Regions from separate parts of the Homo sapiens genome. Here region 2 is linked to region 1. The links are contacts of gene promoters, found by promoter capture Hi-C in blood cells and fetal thymus (Javierre and others, 2016). All regions are on one chromosome and are shown on one strand. Each heading gives the region's core, a stretch centred on a gene start or on the middle of the fragment in contact. The rest is flanking DNA. Distances are from core to core; before and after follow the strand shown. Region 1 holds the start of AFAP1L1 (actin filament associated protein 1 like 1). Region 2 overlaps ABLIM3 (actin binding LIM protein family member 3).

The links. Contacts are between HindIII fragments. The CHiCAGO score rates a contact against its expected background, and 5 or more counts as called.
Region 2: a fragment that was not itself captured here is called in contact with the fragment with the promoter of AFAP1L1 in region 1 in 8 of 17 cell types (naive CD4 T cells, naive CD8 T cells, total CD8 T cells and 5 more); the score reaches 9.7 in naive CD4 T cells.

Annotation. Positions count from the first base shown.
Region 1 is chr5:149,268,473-149,274,180 of GRCh38, reverse strand. It overlaps AFAP1L1 (actin filament associated protein 1 like 1), which reads right to left and starts at 2,322. Exons shown (of 19, transcript NM_152406.4): 1 at 2,197-2,322. The coding sequence starts at 2,212. RefSeq lists enhancers at 722-1,261, 1,262-1,803, 1,804-2,343. The HindIII fragment of the contact is 5,831 bases long and covers 7-5,708 here.
Region 2 is chr5:149,148,675-149,154,113 of GRCh38, reverse strand. All of the region lies in intron 2 of ABLIM3 (actin binding LIM protein family member 3), which reads right to left. Among named protein-coding and RNA genes, the nearest start is that of ABLIM3, 9.9 kb to the right of the region's middle. The HindIII fragment of the contact is 1,092 bases long and covers 3,506-4,597 here.

The sequences.
Region 1 (5,708 bases), core at 1,073-3,572:
GAAGCTTACTTCTGGGTAGGGAGGCCGACACTAAAGAGTCAGATAACTATGTCTATAAAGTTGTGACAAGAGGTGTAAAGAAAGATAGCAGGCTAGAAAAGCCTGCAGGGAGAGAGCAGGTCAGAGCCCTCCTAGGCTCTCAGCACCAAGGGATTCCTGGGAAGTCTGACTTCCTAGGAAGAGTGCTCTGGAGGCAGCCTTCTGACGTGGAGGTTGTTGGTTACCAAGCATTTAAAGTGAAGTGAACTATTGTCACTCTGTCTTAGGATGACACAGTGCACTTTCCACAGGCCTGGGTAGGCCTAGGTATGGATTTTTGTACTGGAGATCAGACAGGTTGGTATTTAAAAACTGGTGGGGAGTGGGGGTGGTGGAGAGGTTGGGGAGGTGGCGGGCGACTAGGAGTGTGAAGGGGAGGGGGGATGGTGGTATTTGCTTTAGACGCATTATGCAGGAGGTGGGAACAGCAGGACTGAGGGGTGTGAGAGGTGCCTCTTCTCTCTGTTTTTCCTCCCTGATGTACACTCTTCACACTTGCCTAGAAATCAGTTAACAGGTGAGAACTGCTTTACAAATCTAGGCCTCAGTTGCTAAAGAACCAAACAGAAGCCCACTCTCTTTCCTGCCTGCCCTTCCCAGTCCCTGAAGGAGAAGGTGAATGCAGTATTCTCTGTTGGGGAGGGGCAAGTGAGGAGGTTGAACTGGAAGCCAGGAGTCCCCTCTGGCCCTCTGAGCTCGCCAAGCCTGACTTTCCGTTTAACAGGAGTAAGGGAGGTTACCCCACACCTGCTCCCGGCTCATCCCTGCCCCAGTGCCTGCTAATTGCTCCCATGCCCCTGTTCCCTTCTTTTTTTCCTCCCTTCGGGGGCTCAGCACAGCAAACAGGCAGATGGGGGAGAGGTGTGAGATTATCGTGGGGAGGGGAATGAATTTTCCATTATTAATAACAGCAACAACAACAACACTTCGCCTGTTGGCACAGCACTCACTAGTTTATCTAGTGCCGTCACACCTGTGATCTCTTTGGATCCCAGAGGTGCAGACTGAAACCCTGGGGTTCTGATTCCCAGCCTCTGACACTGTTCACATGTCCAAGCAGGCCACTTCTTTACAGACACACACATGCCCATCTGGCCATTGCCAAAGGCCATGTCTAGACCTTTACTTAAAATGTGCGCTGCCGGGCGCGGTGGCTCACGCCCGTAATCCCAGCACTTTGAGAGGCCGGGGCCGGCTGATCACCTGAGGTCAGGAGCTCCAGACCAGCCTGGCCAATATGGTGAAACCCCGTCTCTGTTAAAAATACAAAAATTAGCCGGGTGTGGTGGCGCATGCCTCTAATCCCAGCTATTCGGGAGGCTGAGGTAGGAGAATCGCTTGAACCCGGGAGGCGGAGGTTGCAGTGAGCCAAGATCGCGCCACTTCACTCCAGCCTGGGCAACAAGAGCGAAACTCCGTCTCAAACAAAACAAAACAAACAGAAAAAAATGTGCGCTAGCCCCCTACGAATGCTGCCCTCTCGGCTTATGTCAATCTCAATTTCAGTAAGTCCCCTCCACTTCTGTGAAACGTCTACCAAATACACTGGAAAAGGGTCGGCAAGGTGCCTTGGAGACCATCTAGTCCAACTTTGTCGCTGGTCCAGAGAGAAGGGCTGGGCCGAGGACACAGCTGGTGCGGGATAGAACCACCCCCGCCTCCTCCCTCCCTGGCGCACACATGCATGCACACGCGCGCCTGCTCACGGCGCTCCTCCTTCTCGCAATGCCCTAGGCAGCTGCAAACTTCGGTCCCCTAGAGCTTCTCCCTAGGGGCTGCCCACAGCGGGTGTTTCGGGAGTTGAACCTGTACACCTTGTTTTCCCCTTTAGAGTGGAATGAGGTGGGAGGAGCTCGCTGTCCTCCGGAAACTAGAGGGGGATCTTTTATGAAGTTACAAATCGTTAGCCTATGAAAACTCTGATTTCACACACGAGAGGCGAGTTGGCCCCAGGACACGGGCGTTGACACGCACCGGGTTGTCCCGGCAGCCGAAGGCACCTTTGCATAAGCGCCGCGTCTCCCAGTCCCCTCCGAGCGTTCCTCAGCCCCCGCCCCACCGCCCGCCTCTCTCCCTCCTCCTCTCCGGCTTCAGATCGTCCAGTCTCCCTTTCCCGCCCGGCGCCGCAACAAGTGCGGGCGTCGCGGCCCCTCTTACCCTGGCCTCGGTCCATGGCGCCGGCCCGGTCCCCGGGGAGCGGGCCGCAGGGCGCAGGGGCTCCGGCGCGGCTGGTAGCGGCCGGCGCGCTGCGCTCTCAGGCCAGCCCAGCGGCCGGCGCTCTCTGCGGTCCCCTCCCCCAGACAGGATGCTCGCCGGCAGCCCCCGCCCCGCCCGCGCCCGCGCCCGCCCCTCAGAGCCGCTCCCGGAATAGACCCGAGCACGCCTCGCCCCCTGGGCCGCAGCCCGCTGTCCCGTGGTGCCGCACACGCCCCGCCGCGCCCTGCCGCTCGCTCGCCCTCCGCGGCGCTCCCACTTGGGCTTGGAGGACCCTTTTCCCCGTCCGCACGCGTTCGTTCCCGCGCCCGCGCGGCCTGCCCCAGCCCGGACCCAGGAGGTGTGCGGCTTTGCTTGCACTCCGCTAGCGATGGGGTCTTACCACCGCACCCCTCAGCCGGCTCCATGCCGGAATGCGGAGACTGTTGGAGCGCGTTTTTATCCTAGGGAATCAAAACCCCCTTCCCTGCAGCCGCCACCCATTTCCTGGCTTTGGGCTTGTCTTCTCCATTCGCCGCGGGTCTTTCTTGAGCACCTTCTAAGCCAGACAGTGGGCCCGCGGCGATGCCGGTGCAATGTCAGTGGTGTTGCGAAAGAGGAGTTAAATAATAACAAAGATCTTCAGAAAGAAAAGCACCTGGGAAAGGGAGAAAGAGAGGCTTGCTGAAAGGTGGGCAAGGGCTTGGGACACTTTCAACTTTTGAGGTTCCTTGTGTACTAAAACGTGAAAACATAACGAGGATCTGGGAGAATTCAGAAAAAGAATAGAAAAATGAGTAACACGTGAAAACATGCAGAACAGGGTGATAAAAAATGTGGAAATGAATACTTTTAGCATACAAAATACAGTGCAATATAAGTGTACTTTTCGCAAGATTGTAGAAAATATTGCTATGACCAGTGTGGAACAGTAATGGGATCTAAGTTTAAAGCTGTATGAAGAATGTCAACTTCTTCACCTTATTAGTATATCCCTGTGAAAATAGGTCTCACTCATTTATACACAATATCAAATGTCTGACTTTAAGACCCTTCATAAAGTCCAGGACCAATTGTTCTCCTAGACACTGCTCCTCCCACCATGGGCCAGGCCATGGTTTTCAGCTTTGAGCTGACCACTGTTCCCTACTTAGAACATTCTGGAACAGGGAACAGCTACCACAGAGGTATGGAGGCAACAAAAGGCCTGGGAAAGACCCTCCTGTACTTTCCTGGACTGGGAATATTTTCTTTTCTTCTTTTTTTTTTTTCTTGAAAAGTCTCCCTTTGTCGCCGAGGCTGGAGTGCAGTGGCGCGATCTCGGCTCACTGCAACCTCTGCCTCCCGGGTTCAAGCAATTCTCCTGCCTCAGCCTCCTGAGTAGCTGGAATTACAGGCGCCCACCATCACTCCGGGCAAATTTTTGTATTTTTAGTAGAGACGACGTTTCGCCATGTTGGCCAGGCTGGTCTCGAACTCCTGACCTCAGGTGATCCACCTGCCTCGGCCTCCCAAAGTGCTGGGATTACAGGCGCCAGCCACCTAGCCTGGCCGGGAATATTTTCTCTATTGCTTTTATGGGCAAATTAAAATTAACATTTTCTTAAAATATTGCATCAGTAATTTAGTGTGTGTGTGTGTGAGCACTCAGACCAAATGTGATGTTGTGAACAGTGTATGAAAACTTGTGCATGGCTCTTGTTCTGTTAGTTTGGTGCAAAAGTAATAGTGGTTTTTGCCACTGAAAGTAATGGCAAAAAACGCTATTACTTTTGCTCCAATCTAAATACTACATAGTATAATAACTTTTCGTCAATGAGGTTTTCTTGCTCATCTGTGCTATGGGAAGCCTCATACTGTAAGTCCTCACAGGACTGTTGGTAGGGCAAATGAAATAATACAAACCCACTTTATAAACCACAAACAGCTATAAAATATGAGCCATTATTATTTTCTGAGTTCCTTTTTGTTGCTGTCCCCTTTTCCAATTTGAAAAGGTCAGTTTCAATTCTAAAGCAGCCAACCAACAATTTACCAGTGGATTAAGTTTTAAAAGTTTATTGTTTGAACTCTGAACACTTGGAAACAAGGCCATAAATTGTATTTTATTTTATTTTTTAATTATTATTATTATTATTTTTTGTATTTTAGTAGAGACGGGGTTTTACCATGTTGGCCAGGATGGCCTCGATCTCCTGACCTCGTGATCCACCCGCCTCAGCCTCCCAAAGTGCTGGGATTACAGGCGTGAGCCACCGCGCCCGGCCTCCCATAAATTGTATTTTAAGTTCTCAGGCTAGCTCACTAATTCTTCTAAAAACATAATATTTCATTTGAAATAATTTAGAAAAACAGTATGAAATGTTACTATTGCAAAAACAGACGGAGGCTTTTGTAAATATTTTTATTTTTATAATGTTTAAAAAAATATTTAAGATAGAGACAAGGTTTCACTATGTTGCCCAAGCTGGTCTCGAACTTCTGAGATCAAATGCTCCTCCGGCCTCGGCCTCCCAAAGTGCTAGGATGACAGGCATGAGCCTGTAGAGATGTTTAGAGAACTTTCAGAAACTTTCAAGGACTTTGGAGATATATTCAGAGAATTGGAACGAAAAAGTAAAAAAGGCTAAGGAAAATGGAATAATTTATGGAGTGGAATTAACTGAGCTGTGGTCTGGGAAGGATATAGAAATGGGAGAACACAGTCTGTGCACAGTTCTGAGAATCAACAAAAAATTGTTGCTGGCAAGGTATAGGGGTTCTGGTTTAAATAATTACCCATAATGTCCACTAGGTGGCAATGTTGACTAGTTGTCTACAGCTTGGTTGCTGTCAGAGTAACTGAGATGGATGAAAAAGTTATTTGCGGGTTTGGACAAGGAATAACTTTTTTTTTTTTCTGTATGTTTCCTTTAGTGAGTTCTATATTCCTCATAAAAACTAACAATCCACACTGCCCATAAATTCGCTTAGGCAATATTGATTGCACTCTGTGCAAGTTTCTATTGAGAGAAGAAATGCTAAGTAGGAATGATTCTCACCCTCAGGGAATCTACAATCTAGTAGAGGAGACAGACATGTATAAAATAATATAATATAAATTATTGTATGAAAAGTACCAGAGGAGAAATAAAGTGGTCTTGGAGTCCATCAGACAAAGTAAGACTTTTTTACTAATCATGGAGGCTGTAATGGATGACAGATATTTGGAAGGCAGGCAACTGAGAATGTGTAATGAGGAGATAACATTATGGGCAAAGAGCAGTGAGAGCAAAGACATTGAGCTCAAAGGCAGCAGGACGTGTCTGTGAAGCAGTTCAGGTTGGCTGGATCGTGGGTTATTGGGGGATAAGCATCAGGGCAAGGATAGGAATGAAGGTTGTGATACCTGCTTTTCTCTTCCCCTTTCCATTTCATTTTGAGTGCAACTCTCTGGCAAGGATTTTTAGAATCTGCCTCATATCTTCCTTTTCACT
Region 2 (5,439 bases), core at 2,802-5,301, 120 kb after region 1:
GCTTAAAATAGATCAGCTGTGTCATTAGACTATTGCAAAGCAGTTGCTTCATCGGCCCTGCTGGCCTGGTGAGGGCAAGAGTAACAGCCCATGGAGAAAGATCTGTGCTTTGCACAAAATTAAGCAGATGTGAGGACGAAGCTTTGGAAATGATAGAGGCACTAGAGAGTAGCATTCTGCTGCGAGAGAAGGTGGGGCTGTAGCACAGGCACACAAACAGCCACCACAGCCCCTGGGAACAGCAGGGCGGCATGTGGAGCCTGTATGTTCTCCTTGTCTGTCTGGTGACACCCTTAGAAAAAAGGCCTAAGAGATGTTTAGGGAGCCAGGTGAAACCTAATCTGAAATCACTGAGGGACCATCCATACTCTCAGGCAGACACAAAACCAACATGTGGAGCTGCCTGGCGTCTTCCTACTGTTCCTTCAACATCCTCTCCCCAGCATGTTTCAAGTCCTTCCACTGTTCCGGTCACTCATTTCTGGGAATATACGGGCTGATCACTGTCTTCCCTGAATATAATGTTTCAAACAGAGCCTGATCAGGGTCTGCAGAGTGGGACTCTCACCTCCTGTCCATATGGCCTGAAATCACATTTTTTCCTGTAGGCCGTACTGCTCAGTTGCCTCTTTCTGAACTTGAGACCAACTCCTGCTCCCCTAACCTCTTCCTCCAATGGCTGCCATGCCTGGTGTAGGAGACATTAGGGAGTGATGGTCATTGAGGAGGGGAAGAGTTCAAGTCATGTTTGGGAGGTAGAAATGACCAGATGTGGTGACAGATGGAACACAGGAGAGTGGAGGAAAGGGAAGTGTCTCAGAAGACTGCTTTCTAATCACTGACTTATGACTGGGTAGATAGAGGTTCTATAGATCAACCAGGACTGTAAGAGCTAAGGTAGGCTTTTTGCTTTTGTTTTCTTAAGAGAGTAAATTTATTAAATTTTGAAGTGCCTTGGGAATATTCTAGTAGCCATCTTAGCAGATGATCAGAAAGATGACCCTAGAGCTTAGGAAAGAGATCTTTATCTATCTTTATCCTGGGGCTTATTAGAGAGAGTGGGCTTTTCATGAATGCGTTAACTCATCAATTATCTTTTGAGTACCTACTATGTGCCAGACACTGTGCTTTGCTTTCTGTGAATTATTTGCTACCTTGATTTCTTCCTGAGGAATAAGGAAGAATCTGCCCTAAACAGAAGAAATTATGTTGGCATGATCTACTTTCTCAAGCAGGAGGACTCTATAATGACAGAGGAAAGGTTGTGAGTAGCCACATGCAATCATTGTTGTGGCCTTTCAGCAGTCATCCCTTAGCTGGGTGGGTAATCAAACTCACCCAACCCATACAGAGCTCATGCTGTTGACTAGATGTTCTCAACTGGACCAGGCATGTCCCGTATGTCAGAACATTCTCTGGAACAGTTCAGCCTCCTCAGACGCCCTCTTTTGGGCTAGAAAAGGTACCCAGATCTGGGATCAGTTATCCAGAATTGCCCTCCTTTGTTCTGTGTCCTACTCTCTTTTACTAGGTTCTCTGAAAACAAAACTGACCTCCAGGAGGTCAGGGCAGGATATTGTTTGCCCTGTTATTTGCCTAACTGTATCCAACAGGATATGACATCACCCTTCTGGGAATGGGTCAGTTGGGGGAATAAGGACATGTGGCAGGGTTTTGCTCACTTCATGAGGACATTAATATCATGGCAATGTTAATCAATTGCTAACTTCAGACAGGATTTTCTCCCATAATCATTAACAGATGTGCTGCAGCTTCCACATCTCTGTGTGAAGAATCACTTCTACATATTTGATGTTTTATGGATCATCTACTGGACTGCAGTGGCAAGGTGACATAAAAATATTAAGCTGTCACTGTGTAATTTAATAGGAAGTGATAATTGTGGCAAGCCAGAAACTAAGTATATACCCCATCCAAAGCAGGCAATCCTATTGATTGCTGTTAGGAAGAAAAATTGGGTCAGGGCTGCAAAATCCTCCGACTTCATTTTGTTTTTAAGAGAGCCAGAAATCCCACTTCTGATTTCCCAATTTCCCATTGTTGGCAAATAATTCAAATTCACTAAAAACCTGGTGTAGGGCAAATAAGACGTGTCCCTTTACATTGGCCACCAGGAGGCACATTTTGCCCAGCTGTGTGACCCATGATTTTAAAGGCCACATTGGTTCTATTTACTGTTGTATCTCCAGCATTATGCTTAGTGCAGAGCTGGTGTCCAGTAAATACCTGATGAATAAACAAATGAACAATCCAATTCTTATTCCCTGTGTTGGACAGGCCCAGGAACTAGGAAGATTGGAAACGAATGTCATGACTAACTTCCCTTACACTATTGAAACACCACAGTTGTAAGAAATGACCAGGTGGGGTGGAAAGTGTGGCAAACAGACTGGCTGTGGACATACTAAATTACTGGGGTCTTCCCATGTGGGGACCTCCTATGTAAGAGCACTTCCCTTCAGATTCTTAGGAAGAGAGGGTCTACCTCCATGGGTCAGGGATAGCAAAATGAGGGTTTAAACATCAAGACTAGATAGATAAACTTAGTGACTTGCATTTAGTAACCAACTGTTAGCATCTCACGCTAGTGTGGACAGTGGCTGACATTCAGGGGAAACCAAAACACAAGAAAATCTCCTTGAGGAGTCATTTCCTTAACAAACACTCTATTATGGATTGAATTGTGTCCCCACAAACTCATATTTGAGGCCCTACCCCTCAGTACCTCAGAATATAACCGTATTTGGCAATAGAGTCTTTACAGGGATAAACAAGTTAAAATGAAATCATTAGATGGGTCCTAATCCAATGTGACGGGTGTCCCTGTGGAAGGGGGAATCTGGACACAGAGAAACACATGGATAAAGGTGATGTGAAAAGACTCAGGGAGAAAGGCAGCCATCTCCAAGCAAAGGAGAGGCCTCGAGTAGACATTTGTCTCGCAGCTTTCAGAAGGAACCCTGCTAACACCTTCGTTTTGGACTTTTAGCCACCAGAGCTATAAAACAATACATTTCTGTTGTTTAAACCACCCGGTTTGTAGCACTTTGGTGCAGTAGCCCTAGCAAACTAATATATACTATTTATTTCAGAAACCTTTGTTATGTGCCATGCACTGTTTTAAGGAATTCACAACTAACTTATTTATTCTTTATATCTCTTCTCTGACAGAGGCACTATTATTTGCCTCCTTGTAATTATCATTAGAGATGAGGAAGTGAGGCACAGAGAAGGTAAGTGACTTGCCTAAGGATACACAGAAAGTACAAGCAGGGCTAGAATTTGAGTCCAGCAACCTAACTTCAGTCTGTGCCCTTAAGAACTGCAAAGGAAGAATTTATCTGGCAAAATACCCAGAAAGTCGAAGGTGTTCAGATACTTCTGGTTGTTTTCTGTACTTTTACAATGGTTTCTGCCTAAAGTTGGGTAATAGCCAGTTGTTGACCGTTCACCACAGCAGATGCTATCTCAGCAAGATAAAGCTTTTGCCAGATAGGAAAGCTGGAGTTCAGAATTGATATCACTTCCTTTACGCAATCCAAGTGCTCTTGAAATCACGTTGTGATTTTTCTGAGATGTGTTATAGTCATTTTGGGTGATTTTAAAATTGTTCCTTACGTTATTCCTCTAACCCCTTCTTAGCCTCAGGTAATCATCTGTCAACAACTGCTTCATTCATTTGGGAAGTACTGTTTTAAAACAATCTCTATCCTTGTGGAGTAAATAATCACTTCTACTTTATCTGTTTTGCAGATGTAGAATTTCTAGAGAGGGCATCCTACTGCGTTCTTGTGTGTCAGGATCCTGTCTTCAGGGATCCTTAGATTTCTTGATCTGGGCAATGGCATTAGCAGAGGAAGGTCATCATGCCCCGTGTGCTGGGTGTCTTCTATTCTGAACTCCCTCACCTCTCCAGATCCGTTCTGCCTGCTTCCCTACTCTGGACTGTGCCCTGGGAAGCTGCTGACCATTATGAACCTATCAAATGCCTTCCTTGCCCTCTGGCTCCTGATTGGATTTGACCAATGGGAGGTACCCATAGGAGATCTGAGGGAGAGAGAAGAGGAGGATCAGGATATTTATCCTCCTAGTTCTTTCCTTGGAACTAGGCTGGCTGCCTTCCTGGGGCCACAGCCACAGTTCCTGTCAGGCAGCCTTCACCCCATAGCCAGCTGGGTCTCTGGGTCCAGCTAGGGGCAGTTGTGGTAGCAGTGGGTCATGAGCCACAGTTACTAGGCTCCTGGTACTGGGTCATGCTTGCTTCTCTTTGTTTGTTTCTTAATGTCCTTCTCACACACTTGTGAAGAGTCCTTCCATTTAACTCCTCTCAAACTGCCAATCTGTTCTCTGCCAAGACCCTACCTAATAGAATCCTCCTTTTCCTCTTTGCCTTATAAAACAATCAGTGGCTAGGCCATGCAGTCTTTATTTTCTAAAAGATTTTTCCCCTTATTTCTAGTTTTATAACCATCCAAATTTTGGCCCGAGACGTTTTCTGAACTAGGACAATTGGGATCCTAACTTCCTGTCTTCCCTTTTTCAACCCATGCCATATACAATGCCAGGTTAATAAGCTTCCTGTAGGCTTCCCGGGAGCTATGAGTTTCCTATGTAGAAAATCCATCACCTACTGTAATACCAGAAGAACAGACTAATTTTTAATCAGAGGATTTAGTTTTAATGACACCATCTTTCCAGAACTTTGCTTTACTCAACAGTCAACTCAACTTCAGACTCAACTCCATTCACTGAGACCCAATGCCTGTGAGTTTCTAATGTTATTTCGCTGAATCCTTAGAAGAACCCTGCACCTTGGCATTTATTGCTCATATTTTATACATGGTAAAATTTAGCTCAGAGACATGATCTATTCTGTCCAAGACCACAGAGAGAGTACATGATAGATCTTGAGTTTGAACTCGAGAATCCATACCCCAAAGCTCAGGTTCTTGCTGTCCCAGCATGGTCTCTACTTATCCCATGACATCTTTGTGGGAGTTATTTGACCCTTCAATACTCTCTTCAACAGAACAAAGTCTACTCTAAAAAAGTAATTTGTTAGCATACAAATCCATGGTAAAGACCAACAAAGGGGCTAGAGGCAGGAGGAAGCCTATAAAATGAGTAGGAGCAGTATGTGGTACCATTGATCTTGGTGCACTTGATGCTCTGGAGGGTGAGGAGGCCAGCCTTGGTGAAGTGTGAAGTGTGGGGCTGGGCAGAGGGGCTGGTGCTAGTGGGGAAAGGGCTTTCTCGGCAGAAGGAACCATGCATGTAAAGTCAGCAGGAGCAAACCCTTAGAGGGAATGGGAGAAGGCACATGTGACAAGGACACTGAGAACTGTGCACTGTAGACAAGATGGGGCTGGTCAGCAAGGCCAGGAGCAGGCCACATCGGGCCTTACAGGCTTGCTGAGG